Linked DNA regions of Homo sapiens: regions 1 and 2 are each linked to region 3. The links are contacts of gene promoters, found by promoter capture Hi-C in blood cells and fetal thymus (Javierre and others, 2016). All regions are on one chromosome and are shown on one strand. The core of a region is centred on a gene start or on the middle of the fragment in contact, and the rest is flanking DNA. Distances in the headings are between cores, read along the strand shown. Region 1 has its middle 100 kb from the start of PDE4B. Region 2 overlaps UBE2U (ubiquitin conjugating enzyme E2 U). Region 3 holds the start of JAK1 (Janus kinase 1).

Region 1 (4,126 bases), core at 1,076-3,575, 720 kb after region 3:
TACTCAGGCCTCAGCAATGGTGGATGCCCATCCCCCAGGCTCACTGCCACCTTGCAGTTTGATCTCAGACTGCTGTGCTAGCAATGAGTGAGGCTCCGTGGGTGTGGGACCCTCTGAACCATGCACGGGATATAATCTCCTGGTGTGCCATTTGCTAAGGCCGTTGGAAAAGTGCAGTATTAGGGTGGGAGTGTCCCAATTTTCCAGGTACTGTTTGTCACGGCTTCCCTTTGCTAGGAAAGGGAATTCCCTGACCCCTTGTGCTTCCCAGGTGAGGTGATGCCCTGCCCTGCTCATGGGCTGCACCCACTGTCTGACAAGCCCCAGTGAGATGAACCTGGTACCTCAGTTGGAAATGCAGAAATCACCTGTCTTCTGCATTGCTCACGCTGGGAGCTGCAGACTGGAGCTGTTGCTATTTGGCCATCTTGGAACCTCCTCTTATTCACTCTTTCTAAGCATTTTTTTGTACCCATTAACTATCCCCACTTCCCCTCCCCCACTGCCTTCCCAGCCTCTGGTAATCATTATTCTACTCTCTATCTCCATGAGTTCAATTGCTTTAATTATTAGCTCCTCCAAATAAGTGAGGACATGTGAGAACATCTTTCTGTGCCTGGCTTATTTCACTTAACATAATGACTTCCCTTTCCATCCATGTTATTGCAGATGACAGTTTCATTCTTTTTTATGGCTGGGTAGTATTTACTTGATACATTTGTTTCTCATGGGAGTATGGGTTAGAAGTTTTGAAACTAATTAATTTGGATGTTAAGCTTGAACAAAATAAATGAATGAATAAATAAATAAATAAACACATTGTAAATGATCAAAGCTAGGTTTCTCAGAGTGGAAGAATGAAGTGTCGAAAATGAAAGTCAGGAGGGTTAGATGGAATCTAACCTTGATGCTCTTACCTTGCTAGGGTTTTCTGTGTTTTGGCTCCTCCCTGAACTTTCAGCCATCCCTGCAGGGCTGAGCCACACACAGTGACTCTCCACTTATTTGCTTCTCTTTTAGTGGTAGGCTGCTCTTGTTTGTGACTGGATTCTGAGTTCATGGTGGACATTCTCTGTTGTCTTGAATCAGCCTCAGTCTTAGTCATTTAGACCCAGTGCCTGGGTCTTGAGAGTGGGGCTCTCTGGGCATGCTATATTGATTTTACTACTTCTGTTGCTTTCCTGCTATACCTGTACTGTCCATTTCCAGAGAGCTGCACCAACCAGTGTCTTACTTATATTTGGACCTACAGTGTCTGTGATAATGCCTGGTACATAATAGACCTTTGGTAAATTTCTATTGCATGTAATTGAACGAAGTCGATTTGAGTGAAATGTTTAGGAAAACGAAGCGTTGACATTGCTTGTATTTCACAAGATAGTTAAAAATGAATTAACGAGGAAAATTCTGGTTTGAGAATCATTTTCTCTACCTCTTTATAACTATTTGAAATGACAGCATTCCCCATAATAGATTCTCTTTATTTGCCTCACTTCTCTTCGTAGGGGTGAGATAACTGAAATGTGCTGAGGAATTTCCATGTGGCAAGTGTCATGCTGGTCTTTTAAACACACATCCTCATTTAAATCCTGATGATGCTTAAAATCTCCACTGAGAAAATAGGGGACTTAGTAACTTTTCAAATAACTCAGAAGTAGTACGTAAAAGAGGCAGACTAGGAGTCTAGGCCTGAAGGCATGTAAATATCAAAACCAGCTTGTCAAACAGTGTGCTTCTCATAGAAAGATTACTTCTTAACTTGGAGATGAGAACTTTTCATGCTGTACAAACTCGCATGGACAGTGGGTGAGGACAGACTTCTAGGCTCTAAATCTCCAAGGGGTCAGGAAACAACCATGGGGTGGCCAATCGGAGTTGAACCCATTAAGTTACTTGTGAAGTGAAGAAAACATATCAATCAAATTTTTAAAAGTATAGTGTTTGCAATCTCTTGTCTTTCCAGAGCTCCCGACAACCGTCCTTCTGCTTTGCCTTGTGCTCTGCTGCCACCTGCTGGTCATCTCAGAGAAGGCAGAAGGAAACTTTGGGCACAGGGTCAGTGCTCTGGGATCTTTGCCAGTGCAGCCCTGCAGAGTGACTACGGTGACATCTGCAATTGTTTTCTAGGAGCTTGTGTTGACATTCTTGGCTTATCTCAATTCTTTCATTATCTGAAAAGTTTTGAGTAAAAGACCTGTGCCCTAAGGTCTGAAGTTCCAGCCTTCAAACAGGATGTGGGCAGAGGCCTCCCCTTGCTTCGGTAATAAAGTAGATGGATGGCTGATAGGGAGGGCCCAGCAGTCCCTGACGGGGAAATAGTAGGCATTTTCCAAATGAGAGCTCTTCCCTCTCCCCCTCCCTTCACCAGAGGCCCCTCAGGAGATGCTTGGCTCCTGAAGTCCCTGAAGTTGGAGCACATTTAGAAGCTAAAATAGTACCAAGATTTGGGTCTTCTCACTTGCAATTCAGGACTCCTCTGGCTAACGAAATTCTGCGTATGGACTTAAGCAAGAGAGAGCCCCCTAATATGGGAGTAGGTACAGAATTATAAAGTCTGCAGACACAGCAGGCAGGCGGCGGCTGACCTTACTATGCTGGGACTTTAAACAAGTGTTGCTAAGGTCAGCAGAGCATCCAGACACCAAATTGTGCAGTAGGATAGGAAACTATCTGTTAATGACTTTAGAAGTCTATCATTATTTTTCCACCATAAATCTTGGAAAAAACATTAGAAATAATGTATGTGTGCACATAGTCACACATATACAAAGAATGTAAAGAATATAAAATTTGTGATGAAAGGCTAAATACCAACAGTAGTTATCTGAAGGTGATTAGTGCTTTTCCTTATCTGCATTTTATAGTTTTTTTTTAAATGGTGAATATTTATTACTTAGTATCTTTTAAATTAAAAAAAGAAAGAGTGTCTCTTAATCAGAGACTCTGGCTGTATACATCTGGGACTTTTGGTTGTAAGTAGAATGGACCAGAATCTCCAAGGCAGGAGATGGGAAACAGAAAAGAAAGGTCAGCTCTGTTTTATTCTTGCAGCTCGCTCACCCCAGCAGTTTGAAGATAGAGGACAGGGCTATTTGGCTTCTCTGATGTCGTCACTCACTTGGCTGGGATGACATATGGCTGGTGCTGGAGTCCAGAGATCTGGCACTGGCTGTTGTTCTTATTCATCCTTAATCCTGCATCACCCTTCATCTCTGGCCACTACTTCTGTCCTAGTCCTCCCCTATCATGGTAATTGTCTTGTCCTCATTCCAATCTCTCTTTCTACCACCACACAAAATTTTGACAAGCAAGTGGCTAGAAACCGACATTGTTTGTTCAGTATTAAGTCAAAGGAGAAAAGGAGGAGGAACACAGAGGTGTGGTTTTGTTGTTGTTGCTTTTTTTTTTCTTGCCACTGGAAAGATTTGTGCACACTGACATTTAAAACTTATTAACCAGCCAGGAGTGGTGGCTCACTCCTGTAATCCTAGCGCTTTGGGACGCTGAGGTGGGCAGATCACTTGAGGCCAGGAGTTCGAGACCAGCCTGGCTATAATGGTGAAACCTCTTCTGTAGTAAAAATACAAAAATTAGCCAGGCATGGTGGCACACACCTATAATCCCAGCTACTTAGGAGGCTGAGGCAGGAGAATTGCTTCAACTTAGGAGGCGAAGGTTGCAGTGAGCCGAGCTCGCACCACTATACTCCAGCCTGGGTGACAGAGCGAGACTCTATCACAAAAAACAAAACAAACAAACAAAAAGACTTACTAACCAACAGCTTAACTTGGGCTGAGAGGGACTAAAACTTGGGTCTCTACCTTACCAAGTGAAATACCAGATGAGCAAAATCACGCTCAAGTTCTCACTCCCAATAAGCTTTTTCTTCCCCTATTCCCATTTTGAAAGAGGGTGAATATTCTTCCAGAATCCTAAGCATAAAATATGAGAGTTGCTGTGGAGTCTTCTCCCCATCTTATCAATTGCCAAGTTCTGAAGCTTCCATCTGAGGCCCTCCCTTCTCCCCTCCTTCCCTCTATGGGCTCCCTGTTTTACCCCCATCACCTCTGCTCTGCTCACAGCATGAGCCTTCTGAGGTTTCACACCCCCAGTCTGCCCTCATCCA
Region 2 (4,159 bases), core at 1,253-3,752, 700 kb before region 3:
TTCTCTGTCTAACAAACTGGTCTTCCTGTTTCAAAGTCCGACTCAGTTTTCACTTAGACACAGTGATTCCCTCCCTGTGCTCCCAAAGCAGCTTTTCCCTTGCACATCAACTGGCCCTTAGCAGAGACCCAGTAAATATATATGCTAAATGAATGAACTAACAAAGCATCAAAAGATTGAGCAAAATGGAAAGAATGATTTTTGACAAATAAAGTTACTTACAAAACATGAAGTTTAGAAAGTGTATAAAAGGTTGCTCACATTCATTCAGATGGTCTTTGGCATTATCCTACAAATGCAGGAACACTTCTCTTTTTATTGTTTTTCTTATTATGTCTATTAAATTTCTATTTTTTATAATTCCCACCACAGATGAAATTTTTCTTGAGTCACCAACTGCAATAAATAGCATCACAGACATTTATGAAACAGAAGAGGAGGGGTGGAAGAGTGACACTTCATTATATGAAAATGACACAGATGAGCCCAGGGAAGAGGAAGTGGAAGATCTGATCTCCTGGACCAATACTCTCAATACAAATACTTCAGAAGATTAAGCAGAACATTATCAGATTCAAAAAATAAACAGCCTCCGCCATAGCCCAGCGTTGTGGAGCAATTTTGGAAGACTCTCAGAACTTGGATTTCATTTTTTTTAAGTTGTTCTCACCCACTCACTGCAAGTACAAATTAGAAATATAAGTACAAATCAGTAAAGATGTTGCTTTGACTTTTTTGAGTGCTACTCCTTTAGAACAAAGTTACCAAAGTTAGGGGTGTTCATTGCCATATGCCAATCAATGGTGTCACACTCCCACAGTTGTTAGGCTACTGGACACAAGTTTTTGCAGGCAGAGAATGGGTCAGAAAGAGGTTGGGATAGGAGGGGAGCAATTAAAAGCTTCAGAGGCTGGACATGACCCCAAGTAGCGGGATCTATACATGGACCTACATCTGCCTAGTTTCTTGTCTTGTTTCCTCCATATTCAAGGAATGAGATGTCGCTATTTACTAATGTTTCTCTTCTGTTTTATCCCAGAGTACGTGCCATTTTCTCTTAAACCTTGACCTATCTCCTCGTATTCTTATAACTTTATTTTCTCTGTCTCTTTTTGCCATATTGTCTCAACCTACACATGTGCTTTGGTCTCTCCTATTCTAAAATATGTCTCTGCCTTTGACCCCCAACTCTGCTTGCCTCACCAGTATTCACTCATTTTTCTCAGTCAGATTTATTGATCTGCCTTCCGGGTTCAATATTTAGCTAAATATTTAGCTAGCCAGGAAAGTGTCAAGAGACCAGATATGTGTAGTAGAGCTTTCTGGTGGCACATGCCCATAGTCCTAGCTACTCAGGAGGCTGTGGTGGGAGGATTGCTTGAGCCTGGGAGATCGAGGCTGCAGTGATCTGTGATCATGTCACTGCACTCCACTCTGGGCAACAGAGCAAGACCTTGTCTCAAAAAAAAAAAAAAACAAAACAAAACAGAACAAACACACCTAGGTTTCTATGGTTGTTGAGAAAAACCAAATAAATGCATCAATACATTAATATTTATGAAGTTCTAATAATAGCACCTGGCCTATAGTAAGCACTATATTTGTGTTTGATCAAATAAAAAACAAAATTTACTTCTATTTAGTTAATTGATCCCATGCACTATGAAAGAAATTCAGATTCAGGGGGCCTGAACTGAAGTCTATAAACCTGCAGTTTTAAAAATTACCCCAGCTGGCCAGGCGTGGTGGCTCACGCCTGTAATCCCAAAACTTTGGGAGGCCGAGGCGGGCGGATCATGAGGTCAGGAGATCGAGACCATCCTGGCTAACACGGTGAAACCCCGTCTCTACTAAAGATACAAAAAATTAGCCGGGCATGGTGGCGGGTGCCTGTAGTCCCAGCTACTTGGGAGGCTGAAGCAGAATAGCGTGAACCCGGGAAGCGGAGCTTGCAGTGAGCCGAGATCGCGCCACTGCACTCCAGCCTGGGCGACAGAGGGAGACTCCGTCAAAAAAAAAAAAAACAAAAAAACCAGCTGATTCTGATGAAGATGATTAGTGGATGACACTTTGAGACAATGTAATTCTGAGATTAATTTCAAATATGATTAACATGGCATGCCAAATCGTGCCATTTGATAACGGAGTGTGTCATGTATAGTAAAACTCCACAACTGACGCATACCCTCCACTGGATATGACGTCAGATCTGAAGTTAAGGTTCTATAGGAACGCGAGGCCCCAGCCCCCTTGTGATCAGTCTGGATGGATTCTGAAAAGAGAGGAGAAGAGAGAAGCAGGGAATTTCATTTTTTAAAATGTTCTGAATTAGCCGGGAGTGGTGGCGCATTCTTGTAGTCCCAGCTGCTAGGGAGGCCTGGGGCACGAGATTCGCTTGAACCCGGGAAGCGGAGGTTGCAGTGGGCAGAGACCGCGCCACTGCACTCCAAACTGGGCGACAAAGCAGGACTCCGTCTTAAAAGTATAAAATAAAAATAAAAGTAAATAAAATAAATATTATAAAATTTTGCATTTACGTCATTGTCAATGTTTTTTAAACTTGCGTTGTTGTTTAGACTCCACTTCCCCTCCAGATGGCGCCAGTTAGCTATTTCATGCACTTCAGTCTTAAGAGACACTTCACTGGAAGCCAGGCACCAAGCCTCCTTATGCTTTTAAAGGCTCGTATGGCACATGACCACTTTATAAGAGCGGAATACTTTGTTTTCCCTCCCAAGGAAGATGTTTACTCAGTACTAGGAAAGATTTACTAAAAGAAAAATAGCCCAGAGCTTACAAATTACTCACGTTGATAAAATCATAGAGCCAACCTGGAGAAATCAGTCAGTCCTCACCACTGGCTTCAGGCAGGACCACACAGAAACCACCCTCTTGTAGATGAGAATGAGCCTGAGTTTTGTTTAATGACTTCCAGACATCAGTGCATCCACTGAGAACTGCTGCCTCTCCTACCTGAGGGAGGGAGGGACTTCCCTAGGGGTTGACAGTTAGAAGGCTCTCTGGGGCCTGCCTGCCACCTAGACCTCCTTTGCCTCCCTGCTGCTCCCTTACAGGCCATGGGTGCCCCTAACGAGGAGATGGTAGCAATGGTGTTGGCTGGGAGATGAAGGGGGATCCTGTGCCTCTCTGTTATTTGGCAGTTAACTAAGAATATACAGAGACCCAGAGTTAAATTTAAGCCACTCTCTCCAGAGGGTGAGATCTCAAACCTTATCTAAATATTCAACTCCAGTATTTAACCACCTCCCAGAAGAGAGTTCTTTTTGGTTAATCTGATTCCTAGATGCAAAAGTATAAGCCCACTTGATTTGGGGTTTTCATCATAAAAGATGGAGTGCAGCTGGCTCTCATTTTCTGAGCAATATCCCTTAATAGATCTGAAGGCTAATTTTAAATGTTCTATACCCTTCTGCGATCTGTACTAACCAACCCCAGACCTTTTCATTCTTTGTTATGGCCTCTCAATGTTCAAACCCTCTCCCCGACTCTTCATCTCACTTTCAAGTTCTAAGGACCAGACTGGAATCTAAATGAAAAGTGATCACTTGAACAGCCAAGGGTAATTATATTTACAAGTTGAATTCTGTTTCAACAAATACAATTACAACATCCATCCTGATCTCCTGAGGCTTTTTGCATGTCTCAATAACTAGCTCATGTTAACAATCCTTCACCGATATAAAAAAAATGTTTTCTATAGAGGAGAAAATTGTATATACTAGATGTGTTCACAAGTTGCCATCCATTTTTAAGTAAAACTTCATAACTAAGATATTGTTCTCATTAAGTAAGTGTATGTACAATAATTAACTTAGAATATGTCTAAAATAAACCTCAATGTCACCAGTGAGGGCTACTAATAAGATGATATTACTTTAGTGTTCAAAATTGTTTAAATAACTCTGAGTTCTCATATTGTGTCATATGAGTCAACTTTTTCCTACGTTCCATGGCAAATAACAAAAGACCTACTAGAGGATTAAAGAGGTAGAGACTCTTTTTTTTTTCCACAAAATAAGGAGCCCTTAGGTGGGCAGTTGCTGGCATTGGTTCAGCTAGTTGGGCAATGAAGCCATCAAAGACCAAGCTTTTTCTCTTTCCTCGCTACCATTTTTAGGATGTTGGCTTTTGTCTCCAT
Region 3 (4,321 bases), core at 298-2,797:
ACATAATGGGGTTTTGGAAAGGGAAGAACAAAGATTCAATCAATACGAATTGCTCATCTTAAACAAAATCTACTGTGCCTATACCCATATTTAACTCAAATCTTTTCTTCAAAAAATAAAAAAATAGCCAAAACCAAACACGCCCTGATTTACATCTCTCTCTGCATTATTCTCATCACTTAACTACCCATGTTTTACTCCCTGAAAGAAGTAATGACAATTTTATACCACTGTAAATTCCTGCCAGTGAGAGAAAAACCCTATGACTTGGGGGGAAAAGTGTCAATGACATGTATAGCGATGTACTCAACCAGGGGCAGAAGGCAGCTCACAGCCACGTAGTAAGAAGAGTGGCAGGAAGGACGGGGTCCCCTTCCCCAGGAACACACAGGAAATCATGGAGTGCAAACCCTCCAAAAAACGTGTGCACAAACACCTGGCAAACATCGCATCTTTTATCTAGAAGTTCCGTGGTAAACACACATCCAAGGAGCCCACATCCCAGGGACCCTGGGGAGTGACTTTGGAGGAGTGTCTATTAGTCCTCCGATGCTCCCGGTCGCCGACGATGCGCGGATGGAGTTGGAGTGAGGGAGCCAGAGACCAGCCCCAGTTTCGGTTAATCAGTCCCTTTCCAGTGGGATTCGCAATTCCCCGGGTAGTTCTCTCCCACTGTTCCCCTTCCCTGGTCCTCTCGCCCAGGGTCTCCTTTCCCACTTCTCGCTGGCTACCTGAGGCCTGGTTCCTAACAGAACCTAAGAGGGGAGGGGGCGTTTCCCGAGTTCGCGGACGCCCAACACCCAGCTCCAAATCCCAGAAACTTTCCCTCGCTGAGACCGCAAGGAAGGAAAAAAGCTAAGACCCTCAGCCTCCTTCCTGGGGCCGAAGAAGAAAACCTTTCTGCGCTGCCACCCCGGCCGGGAGCTGGCGGTCAAGTTCGCGGTACAAGGAGCTAGGGACGTCAGCCCTCCAGCCCGCGCCTGTATCTCGGGGTGGTATAAACAGGATGTCAGACAGCGCGCTCCGGGCTTGTTTATGAAAACTTGCCGTGCGCGCTGGGGGAGGGGGCGGCCTGGCTTAACCGCTCTTCTCCCGGCCGGGGGCCCCCGCCCGGCGACCTCCTCGCCGCCCGCCGGCTCCGCGGGGCTGGAAATCCCCGCCTTCCCCGCCCGAGCCGCGGGGTCCTGAGCTGCGCTCAGGAGCAGCCCGGGCCGCGCAGCCTAAGGACCGACCAAGAGCGGTGGCCGCGCCTCCGGCCAGTCCGGGCTGCGCGCCCCTCGCCTGCCGACCGCGGCCGCCCCGGCTCCTCCACCTCCCCCGGTGACACTCACCACTTCCGTGTGCGCCTGGGCCAGGCAGCGCCCCGTCGCTGCGCTGGCTGGGGTCGACCGGCAGGCTCGCTAGGCGGCCAGCCCCGCGGGGCCCCAGCGTGCGCGCGCCCAGGGCTGAGGAGGGGTCGCGGCGAGGACAGCCGGGACTGGGCGCAGGCCCGCACTGTCTGCAGCTCCAGGATACTCCGCGGCCGCCGCGGCCTGCGCTCAGCGACGCACCGCCTCCCGTCCCGCCCCGCCCCGCCCCGCGGCCGGCCCCACCCCCGTGGCCGCCGGGCCCACCCCCTCGCGACGTCACCAGCGGCAGCCCCGGAAAGCGGGGCGGGGTCGCGGTCCCGGCGGAGACTCTGCGCCTCCGGCCTACCCGCCCCGCCCCCATCCGGCTTCGCTCGCGAAGCTGCCCCCACTCGTCTCTGTTCACCGCGTCCTCTAGATTCTAGAATCTAGAAACTCATCTAGGACGCGAGGTCATCTATCGCGGGGAGTAAAATTGCCAGGATTCGCCCGTAGATTGACCCCTCCCAGCTCTGGAGCCCCCTCCGCCACACCTTTGTGCGCTCGATGCAGAAATGCATCCCGCCTCCTCCGTATACGCTCCGCTTCTTACCCCAGCTCAGTAGGAGAGGAGCTAGTGGAGCACTAGACTAAAAAGAATTTAACAATACAGCCCCCAGCTTGGACAAGCTACTGCAGATCCAACCCATTCCGTATTTTAAAAGCTCTTTACGAAAAAAAAAAAAGCATATGCATAATAGGAATTAGAACTACATTCACTGATACCTAATGCATGTACAGCGCTTTTCATTTTTTACTAATAACCTCTCAAAGTAGTAGCATCATCTTATCCATGAGGAACAAATTAAGTCTTTAGTGTCTTAATCAAGGTCACACTGTAGCCAAGATTCATACTTCGTAGGCAGTCCACGGACAAATCCTAACAATTTTATTTCCTTAGGTATCTCTCCAATCAGTTCACTTGTCTATGTTCCGGCAACACGGTCCGAGCTGCCACCATCTCTCACCTGAAGGGACCACGAACATCTCTTAAATCGTCACTCCATTCACTCCAGCCCCCAATTAATTCTCTACAATGAACTTTTAAAAATTCAAATCTGTTCCACACACTCCCATGCTTAAAACACTCCAGCGACTTCCCCCTGACAATCCCTGGATGAAAATCCTCCGAGGCCGTGCACGGTCAGAATTCTGCAGCTTCAGGGCTGTGGACAGAGGCTGCCCCACCTGTGCTGACTTCACTAACCCTGCTGGACAGTTCCTGATCACTTGAGTTACTGCAACTGAAACTGAGCAAGATATTCTGGGTGTGGAATAAAGTCAAGCATCCGAATTAGACTACTGAATTTGAGGTTTGGCCTCCACCAGTAACCACCTGTGTTGCCCTAAACAATTCTTAGTTGACTCAATTCTCAGTGGAGCAGCAGACAAAAGGATCTCCAAAGTGCCTTCCAGAAGTACAGAAAAGAGGACCAAAGAAGACCGGAGATCAGAGCAGACAGGGAGGCAACCCGGGTTGCCTGCATTGTGGGTGTTTGTGTGCAAGTCTTGTCTCATCTGCCACACTCTGAACAACACCTCAGGGCTGTTTGCATCATTTTCTTCACCTGTTAAATAGGGATAATGCCTTCCTTAAAGGGGTTTTGCTGAAGGTGAACTATGATAATATAGCCCACATGGCATGGGCTCAGGAAGTGGTAGGGGTTTTTATTGAGCTGGACCATAAAGAACAGGTGAGACTGACATGAAGGGAGACAGAGACGTGAAAGAACAGCATTTCAGGTGAGGATGTAAAGAAAAAGGAAAGTCAGGAAGGCAGCAGTGAACCCATTGTGCCCACGAACGAATCTGGCTGTTCACAGGGTGGAATCAGGGGGAGAGGGCCTGGATTCAGTTTAGATCTGTTCGTCTATAACAGACATTGTGCTAGGTGATGAAGATTCAGAGAAAAAAAAAATAGACTAGGTTCCTGACCTCTGAATGCTCAATGCAGTCAGAGAGACAGGCAAGTAACAATTCAGTGATTCCCGGTCCTGTAATGGTGATCACAGAAGACAGTCACCCAGCCGAGTCTGAGGAAGTCAGAATAAGCTTCAAGTAGCCGACAGGAGGCAGGAGTCAGGAGGTAGCGGCATATTCAGGCAGTAATAGTATATGCTGGCTGGGTGTGGCGGCTCATGCCTGTAATCTCAGCACTTTGGGAGGCTGAGGCAGGAGGACTGCTTGAGGCCAGGAGTTTGACACCAACTTGGGCAACACAGCAAGACCCTGTCTCTAAAATAAAAACAAACAAACAAACAAAGGCCAGGTGCAGTGGCTCACGCCTGTAATCCCAGCACTTTGGGAGGCCGAGGTGGGCCAATCACTTGAGGTCAGGAGTTTGAGACCAGCCTGGCCAACATGGCGAAACCCCATCTCTACTAAAAATACAAAAATTAGCTGGACGTGGTGGCGGGAACCTGTAATCTCAGCTACTTGGGAGACTGAGGCACAAGAATCGCTTGAAGCCGGGAGGCAGAGTTTGCAGTGAGCTGAGATTGTGCCACTGCACTCCAGCCTGGGCGACAGAGCGAGACTCCCTCTCAAAAAAAAAAAAAAAAAAAAAAAGGTAAACTAGCTGGGCATGGTGGCACATGCCTGTATTTCCGACTACTTGGGAGGCTGATGCTGGAGGATCACTTGAGCCCAGGAGTTTGAGGCTGCAGTGAGCTAGGATCACACCACTGCACTTTAGCCTGGGCAACAGAGTGAGACCCCTTCTCTTAAAAAAAAAAAATAAGTATATGCTGTGTGACTGGGGAATGAGAAAAGTTGAATCCCATGCAAAAACTTTTGCCTAAAATAAAATAGTGGGTTTTTTTTTTTGAGAGATTTAAGGTTTTTGTTTTAGAAGAATCACCCTAGGGCAAGGGCTCTCAACCTCAGCACTATTGACATTGTGGGCTGGAAAATTCTTGTTGTAGTGGGGGTGTCCT

Evidence for each region. Contacts are between HindIII fragments. The CHiCAGO score rates a contact against its expected background, and 5 or more counts as called.
Region 1: a contact is called between a fragment that was not itself captured here and the fragment with the promoter of JAK1 in region 3, in 1 of 17 cell types (erythroblasts). The highest score is 6.7, in erythroblasts.
Region 2: a fragment that was not itself captured here is called in contact with the fragment with the promoter of JAK1 in region 3 in 1 of 17 cell types (M2 macrophages); the score reaches 5.1 in M2 macrophages.

Annotation. Positions count from the first base shown.
Region 1 is chr1:65,685,853-65,689,978 of GRCh38, forward strand. No RefSeq gene overlaps it. Among named protein-coding and RNA genes, the nearest start is that of PDE4B, 100 kb to the right of the region's middle. The HindIII fragment of the contact is 3,103 bases long and covers 775-3,877 here.
Region 2 is chr1:64,266,652-64,270,810 of GRCh38, forward strand. UBE2U (ubiquitin conjugating enzyme E2 U) reads left to right here. Exons shown (of 10, transcript NM_001366232.2): 10 at 373-717. The coding sequence ends at 557. Among named protein-coding and RNA genes, the nearest start is that of UBE2U, 65 kb to the left of the region's middle. The HindIII fragment of the contact is 3,207 bases long and covers 900-4,106 here.
Region 3 is chr1:64,965,002-64,969,322 of GRCh38, forward strand. JAK1 (Janus kinase 1) reads right to left here and starts at 1,548. Exons shown (of 25, transcript NM_002227.4): 1 at 1,332-1,548. RefSeq lists a silencer at 893-1,772. The HindIII fragment of the contact is 15,152 bases long and covers 1-3,435 here.